Linked DNA regions of Homo sapiens: region 2 is linked to region 1. Evidence: promoter capture Hi-C in human tissues and cell types (Jung and others, 2019). All regions are on one chromosome and are shown on one strand. Each heading gives the region's core, a stretch centred on a gene start or on the middle of the fragment in contact. The rest is flanking DNA. Distances are from core to core; before and after follow the strand shown.

The links. Contacts are between HindIII fragments. The study calls those that stand out against the background at their distance.
Region 2: a fragment that was not itself captured here is called in contact with the fragment with the promoter of IL31 in region 1 in 2 of the 25 tissues and cell types used here (dorsolateral prefrontal cortex and pancreas).

The regions. Positions count from the first base shown.
Region 1 is chr12:122,171,188-122,177,695 of GRCh38, reverse strand. It overlaps IL31 (interleukin 31), which reads left to right and starts at 3,475. Exons shown (of 3, transcript NM_001014336.2): 1 at 3,475-3,539; 2 at 3,704-3,852; 3 at 4,955-5,667. The coding sequence starts at 3,524. The coding sequence ends at 5,284. It also overlaps a transcript of LRRC43 not described here. The HindIII fragment of the contact is 15,918 bases long and covers 1-6,508 here.
Region 2 is chr12:122,338,443-122,344,843 of GRCh38, reverse strand. CLIP1 (CAP-Gly domain containing linker protein 1) reads left to right here. Exons shown (of 26, transcript NM_001247997.2): 11 at 3,147-4,091. Among named protein-coding and RNA genes, the nearest start is that of CLIP1-AS1, 54 kb to the left of the region's middle. The HindIII fragment of the contact is 3,429 bases long and covers 3,025-6,401 here.

The DNA of each region.
Region 1 (6,508 bases), core at 2,226-4,725:
CCATCGCTACAAAAAATAGAAAAATTAGCCAGGCATGGTGGTGCAGGCCTACAGTCCCAACTACTTGGGAGGCTGGGGTAAGAGGGCTGCTTGAGTCTGGGAGGTCAAGGCTGCAGTGAGCCGTGATCACACCACTTCACTCCAGCCTGGGTGAGAGAGCAAGATCCTTTCTATTAAACACACACACACACACACACACACACACACACACACACACACTTTCTCTCTCATAGAGTTTGTAGGTCAAAGTCTAGCATGCCATGGATAGATTCTTTGCTCAGGAACTCACTGAGCTGAAATAAAGGTGCTGGCTGGCTAGGGTTCTCATCTAGGTCTCAGCATCCTCTTCCAAGCTCAGTGGTTATTGACCAAATTATTTCCTTCTCGTGCTTTCCACGCTGCCCCCCACCATCTTCAAGCCAGCAACAGCAGGTGAGCCCTTCTCTTGCTCGTAATCTCTCTGACTTCCTCTTCTGCTTTATGGGCTCATGGGATTGCATTGGGGAGGCCCAGGGAATGCAGGAAAATCTCTCTATTTTAGGTAAACTGAATAGTAATCATGACTACATCCACAAAACCCCTTTTGCCATGCAATGCAACATAATTATGGCAGTAAACACCTGTGGATGAAGGTCATGCCTACCATGGACTCTGCTAGAGGATATTGATTACATTAGTGGGGTGGTGAAAGCCATATTGTGGCAGTTTGGGAAGTAAAGAAAAAGTCAGTGGTGGCTGGCGGCAGGGGGACTTGGGATGATGGGTGGGAGGGCTTCCTGGCTGTGTCCCCTCTGTGCACCTTGAGTTCTGTGGGCTGCCCAGACTGACCTCATCCCAACATGGTGAAACTCCATCTCTACTAAAAATACAAGAATTAGCCAGGCATGGTGGTACATGCCTGTGATCCCAGCTACTCAGGAGGCTGAGGCACGAGAATTGCTTGAACAGGGGAGGTGGAGGTTGCAGTGAGCTGAGATTGCGCCACTTCACTCCTGCCTGTGCGACAAAGTGAGACTCTGTCTTAAGAAAAAAAAAAATGCTACTACTACTAATAAATAAAGTTCATCAGGGCTAGGCATGGTGACTCATGCCTGTAATCCCAGAACTTTGGGAAGCCAAGGTGGGAGGATCGCTTGAGATCTTCTCTCCAAAAAAAAAAACAAAACAAAAGACAAAACAATTAAGAAAAGAAAAAAATAAAGTGCATCTGATCTTATGTTTCCCTACTGAAAGCCGCCCAGCACTGCCTCGTCACATGTGGAATAAAACCCAGGCTCTTTGTCCCAGCCTCAGGCCTCTGTGATGGAGCCGCTGCCCACCTCCCCACTACCCTCCTGTCCTCTCGCGTCACTGTGGCTGCCATGACCCTCTTCCCGTTCTAGGAACAGCATCGAGCTCATTTTCACCTGAGGATTTTGCACTCCTGTCCCGTTGCCTTGGAACACTCTTCTCCCAGGTCTTCCCACAACTGGCTCCTTCTTGTCTTTCAGTCTCTTCTTCAATGTCACCTCTCAGAGAGACTTTTGCTGATCACCTGACTTAAAGTATCCTGCCCGTCACTCTCCAACCGTCACAGTGCTTTCTAGCTTATTTATGAATGTTGTTGCTATTGTCCGCAGCCCACAGCAATGACGGGCCCACAAGGGCAGGAACTCTAACTTCTTCACCGCTATTCCCGATACCCTATAAAATGGCCTGATCAAAGCTGGCACTAAAATATGAATAAGGAGGCCGGGTGCAGTCGCTCATGCCTATAATCCCAGCAGTTTGGGAATCTGAGGCGGGCAGATCACCTGAGGTCAGGAGATAGAGGCCAGCCTGGCCAACATGGTGAAACCCCGTCTCTACTAAAAATACAAAAATTAGCCCGGCGTGGTGGTGGGTGCCTGTAATCCCAGCTTCTCGGGAGGCTAAGGCAGGAGAATCGCTTGAACCCAGGAGGCGGAGGTTGCAGTGAGCCGAGATCGTGCTATTGCACTCCAGCCTGGGCAACAAGAGCGAAACTCTGTCTCAAAAAAGAAAAAAAAAAATTAGCATAGTGATTTGTGCCTGTGGTCCCAGCTATTTGGGAGGCTGAGGTAGGAGGATCACTTGAGCCCAGGGGATCGGGGCTGCCGTGAGTTGTGATGATGCCACTGCACTCTGGCCTGGGTGACAGAATGAGACCCTGTCTCAAAAAAAAAAAAAAAGAAAGAAAAAGAAAGCTAATGAACTTAGAAATAGTTTCTAAGGCCAGAGTGGTGGCTCGCACCTGTAATCCCAGCACTTTGAGAGGCGGAGGCAGGTGGATCACAAGGTCAGGCGTTTGAGACCAGCCTGGCCAACATAGTGAACCCCGTCTCTACTAAAAATACAAAAATTAGCTGTGCGTGGTGGTGGGCGCCTGTAATCCCAGCCACTCAGGAGGCTGAGGCAAGAGAATTGCTTGAACCTGGGAAGTGGAGGTTGCAGTGAGCCGAGATTGCGCTACTGCACTCCAGCCCAGGCGACAGAGCAAGACTCTGTCTCAAAAAAAAAGAAAGAAAGAAAGAAAGAAAGAAAAGCAATAAAGTTTCTAGGCTGGCGCAGTGGCTCATGCCTGTAATTCCAGCACTTTGGGAAGCCGAGGCAGGCAGATCACCTGAGGTCAGGAGTTAGAGACCAGCTTGACCAACATGGCGAAACCCCATTTCTACTAAAAATACAAAAATTAGCTGGGCATGGTGGCACGTGCCTGTAGTCCCAGCTACTTGGGAGGCTGAGACTGAGGCATGAGAATTGCTTGAGCCCAGGAGACAGAGGTTGCAGTGATCACGCCACCGCACTCCAGCCTGGGTGACAGAGCAAGACTCCATCTCAAAAAAAAAAAAAAGAAAAAAGATATGAACAAGGATTTCAAGCAATAACTCTGGATCACAGTCTCTGGTTCTGGGCCCTGAGATTGCAGAGGCACGATGGAGAGTCCAGTGATGTCCAAGGCCACATGGAGTTGAGATGAAGCCTTCGACCCGCCACATTCACAGCAGTTATGGGGCCGTCCCTGCACACCGGCGTGGGCATATGCTGCAGAAATTTCCAGAGATACCGCATTCTGCACATCTCATGCCGGCTTCGCATTTCCTCCCCAGAAATTCCCTGTGGCCGCTGGCCTTGAACTCCTGGAAGTCACCCGCTCCTTGGTGGTATGGTCGTGTCTGTCAACCCTGGGCTTCAAAATTTTGTCTAGTCAAATCAACAGGCTCCTTCCAAGAAGAATGGCAAAGATGCATTCATGTGCCTTCTTGTGAAGTATGTGTGTGTCTGAGTCAGGCATCTGCCCACCTGGAGGGTAACCTCAGCATTTCCATTCAGCCCTTTCACTCAGCCGTGGCCAGTAGAACTTTTGAGTGTTTTCTGGAGAAAAGCTGAGTAAATGGTTTTGCCATGGGCGGGACGCTGACTGCTCTTTCTCCTCACCCTGGCCCTTTATATACCTCCAGGCAGCCATGGCGAACACATCTGGCTCCAGAAGCCCCCACTGAAGCTGGCCTTGCTCTCTCTCGCCATGGCCTCTCACTCAGGTATCACTGGTCCTGGTGCTTCCGGAGTCTTGGGCATCATCTTATCTCACCAGGAAGATTCTGGAAGCACTACCCCCAGGGTTGGCTCAGCAGGGCTGCAGGGATGGAGCCAGGGTGGGCAGGGGTGTGTGATGTATGCGCTCACGGCATCGTTCTCTCTCCAGGCCCCTCGACGTCTGTGCTCTTTCTGTTCTGCTGCCTGGGAGGCTGGCTGGCCTCCCACACGTTGCCCGTCCGTTTACTACGACCAAGTGATGATGTACAGAAAATAGTCGAGGAATTACAGTCCCTCTCGAAGATGCTTTTGAAAGATGTGAGTGTCCTAGAGATTTCTTTTCTAAACGATTTCTTAAAAATGCCTTCCATTGCCCTCCAAAGAGGCTCCTCTCTCCGGACCTGAAACCAGGGCTGTAGCTATGCCAGGAAGGGATGGGGGAAACTAGACAGGCAAAGATGGCTTTTTTTTTTTTTTTGAGACAGAGTCTTACTCTGTCACCCAGGCTGGAGTGCAGTGGTGCAATCTTGGCTCACTGCAACCTCTGCTTCCTGGGTTCAAGCGATTCTCCTGCCTCAGCCTCCCGAGTAGCTGGGACTACAGGCATGCGCCACCACGCCCAGCTAATTTTCATATTTTTAGTAGAGACAGAGTTTCTCCACGTTGGCCAGGCTGGTCTTGAACTCCTGACCTCAAGTGATCCGCCTGCCTTGGCCTCCCAAAGTGCTGGGATTACAGGCGTGAGCCACTGTGCCCAGCCAAGATAGCTTTGATCAAACAAACAAATGCCCAAACTTGGAAACAATTCATAAAATTGGCATTACTCTTCTCATCTGCCTTGGTATTTAGACCTTAGCCTTGGCTTTTATAAAAGGCAGAGGTTGTTACCAACCCAAGATGACTGGGCAGTTCAGGTTGATGAGGTGCTGCTGGCAATTTGGTCTGACTCTAGTTAGTACTTAGAAAGAGGAAGGGAGGGAGTGGTCCGGACTCCTTGGTTTGTTGGGGAAAACTCTCGCCTGCATCTCGGAGGCCTTTCCGGACAAGCCTAACACTCTCCTTTATAAGTGGAGCGTGCGTGGCTTTAACACAGAGTCCCAAAGGGCGGGGAGCTGCCATGGAAGGCCAGATGTGCTGCAATTCCCACCACCCTGAGCACGTGAGAGTGGGTTCTGGAAGGCTGGGAGGCCTCAGCTGGATGGATCAGTGGTTCTGAGCACAGGCTTCAGGACTGCAGCCACCTAAGCTCTAGTTTCATCTGGAAATGGGGTTGGTGATGGCACAGCCTCATAGGGTTGTGACATTGATCAGATAAATATATCAACGAGGCGGGTTACGGAGGAAGCATGCAAACATTCACTGTTAAGACTTGCAGCTGTCATTGCAAACCCAACACTGACCATTTCTCCTCATTCCACAGGTGGAGGAAGAGAAGGGCGTGCTCGTGTCCCAGAATTACACGCTGCCGTGTCTCAGCCCTGACGCCCAGCCGCCAAACAACATCCACAGCCCAGCCATCCGGGCATATCTCAAGACAATCAGACAGCTAGACAACAAATCTGTTATTGATGAGATCATAGAGCACCTCGACAAACTCATATTTCAAGATGCACCAGAAACAAACATTTCTGTGCCAACAGACACCCATGAATGTAAACGCTTCATCCTGACTATTTCTCAACAGTTTTCAGAGTGCATGGACCTCGCACTAAAATCATTGACCTCTGGAGCCCAACAGGCCACCACTTAAGGCCATCTCTTCCTTTCGGATTGGCAGGAACTTAAGGAGCCTTAAAAAGATGACCGACAGCTAAGTGTGGGAACTCTGCCGTGATTCCTTAAGTACATTTTTCCAATGAATAATCTCAGGGACCCCTCATATGGGCTAGTCCCGGGAGGGCTGAGATGTGAATTTGTGAATTACCTTGAAAAACATTAGGTTATTGTTATTAGTCTTGGTATTTATGGAATGCTTTTCTTCTGCAGGCTTAAGTCTTACTTATTATACCCTCGTGAGGGTGGGAGGTGGCAGCTATGTTAATTTATTGATATTTATTGTACTAAGAGTTGTCAATGCTCCCTGGGGGAGCCCTCGGAATCTATTTAATAAATTATATTGAATTTTTCTCATAATCTGTGACACATTTTGTGAGGGGCTTGACATTGGCAAATGGGACTCCAAGCTGGGTAGAGTTGTGGCAGAGGGCAGATGGACATGCTCTAGAAAGAGGTATCGCTTCTACCACTGTCATTTCTTCCCACTGGACGGGCTCAATAAAAAATAATGACCCTGAGCCAGGCACTGTGGCTCACACCTGCAATCCCAGCACTTTGGGAGATAAAGGCAGGAGGATCACTTGAGCCCAGGAGTTCCAGACCAGCCTGGGCAACATAGTGAGACCCCATCTCTATTTAAAAAAAAGAAAGAGAAAAGAAATAATGACCCTGGTGGTACACGGTGGCTAGTTTCGTCTGGAAATGGCGATGGTGATGGCCACAGCCTCATAGGGTTGTAACACAGATCAGATATCCCAGCACTTTGGGAAGCTAAGGCTGGAGGACTGCTTGGGGCCAGAGTTTCGGACCAGCCTGGGCAACATAGCAAGATCCCATCTCTAAAAAAACCAACCCAAAACAAAACAAAAAAATTAGCCAGACATGGTGGTGTGCTACTTGGGAGGCTGAGGTGGGAGGATTGCTTGAGCCCAGGAGTTCGAGGCTGCAGTGAGCTAGGACAGCACCACTCACTCCAGAGACAAAGCAAGACCTCAGCAGCAATAAACACTCATTGAGCATTTTCTTTATGCCAGGTCATGTTAAGCACCATCCTCTTTTCATAGGTAGGGAAACTGAGGCAGGAAGTCAGTCAGTCACTTGCTCAAGGCCACACAGCTGTTAAGGGGTGGAGCCCAGTTTCCAGCCTGAGCTTCTCTGCCTTACTCAGGCTTTGACCCTCCCCGGGCAGTGGTTGGGC
Region 2 (6,401 bases), core at 3,490-5,989, 170 kb before region 1:
ATATCACCTATGTTACTTTTTAGGAAGTGCTTTAGAATACTTTCTAGCCAATAAATCCAGTTTCCAAACAGTGTGCTTGGTGCTGTAGAGATGTTAGGAAGAATAAGAAATAATTTCTGACTTAATTCATGGTCTCAAACTAGTGGGAGAAGCAGACATACCACATAGTTTTGAATTAGGGCAGATTTTGGGAAATGAAAAATAAATTGCTGTACTTTATAGGGAAATGCCACGGAAAGTAAAATCACATTGGTATTTATTATTTTTACTTATTTTTTACTTGGCATTTTTCTCTACTTGACTGTTTTGTTGTAACTAAGAACCATTGCCCTATTGGGTTTAATGTATTTATGCTACAGACCTTGCAGCAATGGGGTTTATTAGTGTTTTGTGTTTTTTTTTCTTTTATTTAGCAAATTCTGCCAGATCCTGATGGGTTTATTAATGTTTTGTATGTTATTTTGACGTAACAAACTCTTGGACTCTTCCTTCCCCAGAAAATCATGTGTAAATGAATTAACATCTTTAACCTGATGAGTCTATAACCACGAAGCACAGCAATTATAGTCAGCTCTGAAATATTTAATTTTATTTACTTTGATTATGCAGTTTTGGAGACTCAGTGCTTTCTTTTCCTCTTCTCTTATGGGCATTTTAATCTTTATTGGTGTCACAGCCTGTAGGGTGGACAGAGGAAATGAAAGAAAACATATCTGTTATTTTCTGTCTCAAAGAAAGGCAGTGTGGGAGAGGAGTCTTAAATTCAGAAGAATATTTAACATTTTTTTGTAGAGATGGAGTTCTCGCTGTGTTGCCCAGGCTGATCTTGAACTCCTGGCCACAAGTGATCCTCTTGCCTTGGCCTCCCAAAGTGCTAGGTATATAGGCATGTACCACCTCACCCAGCCAATCACAGGAGTTTTGATCCTTGAAATATGGGACTCACTGCTGTTTTAAAATTATTTTGTTCCCTTTCATTTCCCAGATTAGTCCAAGAATTTTTGTGATGGAAGCTATTTTCCACACATCCTATGTACTAAATGGACTGCATAGCAGGTAGCAGAGGGAAGTAATTTTCTAGCAATGAAAGGGCACAGGTTAAGAAAGTGTTTTTCTAGCCCTGGGGTATTTATTTAAAGGAAGAAGATTCTTGGGTACTATCCCGGAGCTCAAATAGAATCGAAGTACATGGGAATAGGTAGAAACTTGCAGGTTAGATGTACATTCCAGGTGATTCATGTGCGTACTAATGTCTGAGAACCACTGGGTTAGGGGGTTAGGGGAAGAAGATGTTTACATCAAAATGCTGATAGAATTATCATATCTAAAAAGGGGATTTTGTGTAAGATTCTTGTGTATTATTGCAGGTAAGTAATCATTCTTACTTTGTGTTTTAATAAAATGATCAGTAGGCCAGGCGTGGTGGCTCACGCCTGTAATCCCAGCACTTTGGGAGGCCAAGGTGGGTGGATCACTGGAGGTCAGGAGTTCGAGACCAGCCTGACCAACATAGTGAAACCCCGTCTCTACTAAAAATGCAAAATTAGCCAGGTCTGGTGGCACATGCCTGTAATCCCAGCTACTTGGAAGGCTGAGGCAGGAGAATCGCTTGAACCTGGGAGGTGGAGGTTGCAGTGAGCTGGGATCGCGCCATTGCACTGGGCAACGAAAGCAAAACTCCATCTCAAAAAAAAAAAAAAAAAAAGTTTAGTAAATTAATTCTTCATTCTTCAATTGAGGCTTTCATTCTACAGGTGATGTGTTATTCATTGAAACATTTGATAGGTAATTTTAGACCTTTTATGCAAGTGCTGTCCAATAGAAGTATAATGTAAGCCACACATGTACAATTTATAATTTTCTGGTACCCACATTACTTTTTTGTAAGTCACAAGTTAAATTAGTTTTAATAATATATTTTATGTAACTGATATATTCAAAATATTAATCAAAATAAAATTATTAAGATATTTTAAACATTTTAAAATATAATTTCAGTTTGTTTTTTTTTTTTTTTAGAGACAGAGTCGTGCTCTGTCTCCCAGGCTGGAGTACAATGGCACAATTACTCACTATAGCCTCAACCTCCTAGACTCAAGCAATCCTCCCGTCTTAGCCTCCCAAGTACCTGTTACCACAGGCGACACCACCATGCCTGGCTAATTTTTTATTTTTTGCAAAGACGGGGTCTTGCTGTGTTGCCGAGACTGATCTTGAACTCCTGGCCTCAAGTGATCCTTCTGCCTCGGCCTCCCAAAGTGGTGGGATTACAGGCGTGAGCCACTGCACTTGGCCCACAAGACATTTTGTGATCCTTTTCTTCTAAGTCTTCAAAATCTGATGTGTATTTTGCACTTATACCACACCTCACTTCAGATGAGCCACATCTCAAGTGCTCAATAGCCACGTGTGGCCAACAGCTACTGTTCCGGATGGCACAGTTCTATAAGATCACCTCCATGAAATGGATAAGCATTTATGCAACCTGGATGAAGTGGGGTAGGACAAACTGGCAAAATAAGGAAATGTTTTCTTTCAGGAGGCAGTTATATCTGTGAACTTTGAAAGTTACTGTTTCTGTTAACTTATCAGTTAATGGATATTTATCTGATTTAAGCTTCTTTAGAATTGGAGATACTAAAGTTGGACTTAAGCCATTATCACAGTTAGAAATATATATTAACCTATAAACGTTCATAATAGTTTGCTGCCTGAGATGGGGTAGTTATTAAATATCTTCAGTGTTAAAGAAAATAATCAGGCCAGGTGCAGTGGCTCATGCCTGTAATCCCAGCACTTTGGGAGGCCGGGGCGAGTGGATCACCTGAGGTCAGGAGTTTGAGACCAGCCTAACCAACATGGTGAAACCCCATCTCTACTAAAAATGCAAAAATTAGCTGGGTGTGGTGGCGCATGCCTGTAATCCTAGCTACTCAGGAGGCTGAGGCAGGAGAATCGCCTGAACCCAGGAGGTGGAGGTTGCAGTGAGCTGAGATCGCACCATTGTACTCCAGCCTGGGTAAGAAGAGCGAAACTCCATCTCAAAAAAAAAAAAAAAAAAAAAAAAAAAAAAAAAAAAAAGAAAAGAAAATAGTCAATGACTTGTTATTTAAATGATCTTTTTTTCTTTGGACTGCTGTTAATAGGTGGCTACAGTTTCAGAAAAGTCACGTATAATGGAACTGGAGAAAGACCTAGCATTGAGAGTACAGGAAGTAGCTGAGCTCCGAAGAAGGCTAGAGTCCAATAAGCCTGCTGGGGATGTGGACATGTCACTTTCCCTTTTGCAAGAGATAAGCTCTTTGCAAGAAAAGTTAGAAGTCACCCGTACTGACCACCAGAGAGAAATAACTTCTCTGAAGGAGCATTTTGGAGCCCGGGAAGAAACTCATCAGAAGGAGATAAAGGCTCTGTATACCGCCACGGAAAAGCTTTCCAAAGAGAACGAGTCATTGAAAAGCAAGCTGGAGCATGCCAACAAAGAGAACTCAGATGTGATAGCTCTATGGAAGTCCAAACTGGAGACTGCCATCGCATCCCACCAGCAGGCGATGGAAGAACTGAAGGTATCTTTCAGCAAAGGGCTTGGAACAGAGACGGCAGAATTTGCTGAACTAAAAACACAAATAGAGAAAATGAGACTAGATTACCAACACGAAATAGAAAATTTGCAGAATCAACAAGACTCTGAACGGGCTGCCCATGCTAAAGAGATGGAAGCCTTGAGGGCTAAACTGATGAAAGTTATTAAAGAAAAGGAAAACAGTCTGGAAGCCATCAGGTCGAAACTGGACAAAGCAGAAGACCAGCATCTCGTAGAAATGGAAGACACGTTAAACAAATTACAGGAAGCTGAAATAAAGGTAAAGGAGCTAGAGGTACTGCAAGCCAAATGCAATGAACAAACCAAGGTTATTGATAATTTTACATCACAGCTCAAGGCTACTGAAGAAAAGCTCTTGGATCTTGATGCACTTCGGAAAGCCAGTTCCGAAGGTAAATCGGAAATGAAGAAACTTAGACAGCAGCTTGAGGCAGCTGAGAAACAGATTAAACATTTAGAGATTGAAAAGAATGCTGAAAGTAGCAAGGTTTGTATTGACATCCTCCATTCTTTTCTTTTCCATTTGTTATTCTTGTTTTGCATTATGTTACTTTTGAGTTGAGATCATTCATCTTCCAAATTGCTGATTTAATTAAATTGCTTGATGTCCCCAGTTGAGTATAGTGTAGTATGTTCTGAGTATCTCAAGTATGGTTTCATCTGAGGAGATTAGAGAAAATAATGGCTCAACCATGTGAATTTATTTTGGTTGCCTGTTATCTGGGTACCTGATCTATTTATCTCTGGGCTATGCTGTGACTTCTAATTTAAGCTTAGCTCCAGTCTATAATCTGTTTAAAATAAAGAATGCCCTAACACTATGGTGTTAAGATGAATGAATGAACAGAAACTCAAAAGATCGGCCAGGCGCAGTGGCTCACGCCTGTAATCCCAGCACTTTGGGAGGCTGAGGCAGGTGATCACCTGAGGTCAGGAGTTCGAGATCAGCCTGGCCAACATAGTGAAACCCCATCTCTACTAAAAATACAAAATTAGCCTGGCATGGTGGCGGACACCTGTAATCCCAGCTACCCAGGAGGCTGAGGCAGGAGAATCACTTGAACAACCCGGGAGGCGGAGGTTGCAGTGACCTGAGATTATTCCACTGCACTCCAGCCTGGGAGACAGAGCAAGACTCTGTCTAAAGGAAAAAAAAAAAAAAAGCTTAAAAGATCATCTCCTCCTCTTCTAACCACATATAGTCAGGTGCCACATAATGATGTTTCAATCAACAATGGACCACATAAACAAAGGCGGTTCCATAAGATTGTAATATGGTATCTTTACCTTTTGTATGTTTAAATATGCTTTGATACACAAATACTTAGCATTGTGTTACAGTTGCCTACAACATTCAGTACAGTAACATTTTATACAGGTTTATAGTATAGGAACAATAGGCTGTGCCACGTAGCCCAGGTGTGTAGTAGACTATACCTTCTAGGTGTGTGTAAGTGCACCCTGTGATGTCCCCACAACAATGAAATGCCTAATGATGCATTTCTCATAAGATATCCTGGTTCTTAAGCAATGCATGACTGTAATTGCTTATCTATAGGGTTATGTATAAAAACAGACTGAATTCAGTGCTTCTTGACTATTATAAATTAACATGTTGGCCGGGCAAGGTGGCTCATGCCTGTAATCCCAGTGCTTTGGGAGGCTGAGGCAGGCGGATCAGTTGAGGTCAGGAGTTTGAGTCCAGCCTGGCCCCTGTCTACTAAAAATACAAAAATTAGCCAGGTGTGGTGGTGTGCGTCTGTAGTCCCAGCTACTCAGGAGGCTGAGGCACAAGAATTGCTTGAACCCGGGAGGTGGAGGTGGCAGTGAGCTGAGATCGTGCCACTGTACCCCATCCTGGGCGACAGAGCAAGACTCCATCTCCAAAAAACAAAAAAAAACCCATGCTGTGATAAATAACATTCACAGCAAAATTAAGGGTAAGAGCTTGGAGCCCTTTGCATGGCAGAAATCTCATTGGAGTTTTTTTCTGTGGCATAATGAGAACATGATCTGTCCCCTCCTTTTCTGGGGGAAATACTGAACAAGTGTGCATGTGGTCAAGGCTTAGGAAATTACGTGAAACATTCGCCAGCTGCATTCCTTACTAACTAGCCTTGTTAAATGTCATCTTTATCTTTAAAGGTGGTTCGAGGAATTGTTTCCCAGTCCTGCCACTAGTTGAGGCACTGGTATTGATGCTCAATGTTCTGAACTTTTTTGTGGGAGAAGCTGCTCTATTGGCAAAGAAGGAAGGGTTGTGATGGTTAAATGGGGTGAGGTGAGGACTGACAAACAGCAAAAAATTGCTAACTAACCATAGTCGAAGATGACAAACTGGTTACAGGAAATTTTTCTCAAATCTCCTCATGTGGTTCCGAAATACTAATCAAAACACAAAAATTAATTAGAAGATAATATTTAGCTAATGCTAGTTTACTTTTTAACATCAAGATTTCATGAAAGCCAAGTTCTAATGACTATTGTCCAGTGGATTTTTTTGTTTTGTTTTGTTCTGTTTTTTTGAGACAGTCTCACTCTGTTGCGCAGGCTGGAGTGCAGTGGCACAATCTCGAGTCACTGCAACCTCCACCTCCCAGGTTCAAGCGATTCTCCTGCCTCAGCCTCCCGAGTAGCCAGGATTACAGGCGCCCGCCATCATGCCTGGCTCATTTTTGTATTTTTAATAGAGAGAGGGTTTCACCATGTTGGCCAGGGTGGTCTCGAACTCCTGACCTCAAGTGATCCACTGACCTCGGCCTCCCAAAGTGCTGGGATTATAGGCTTCAGCCACTGC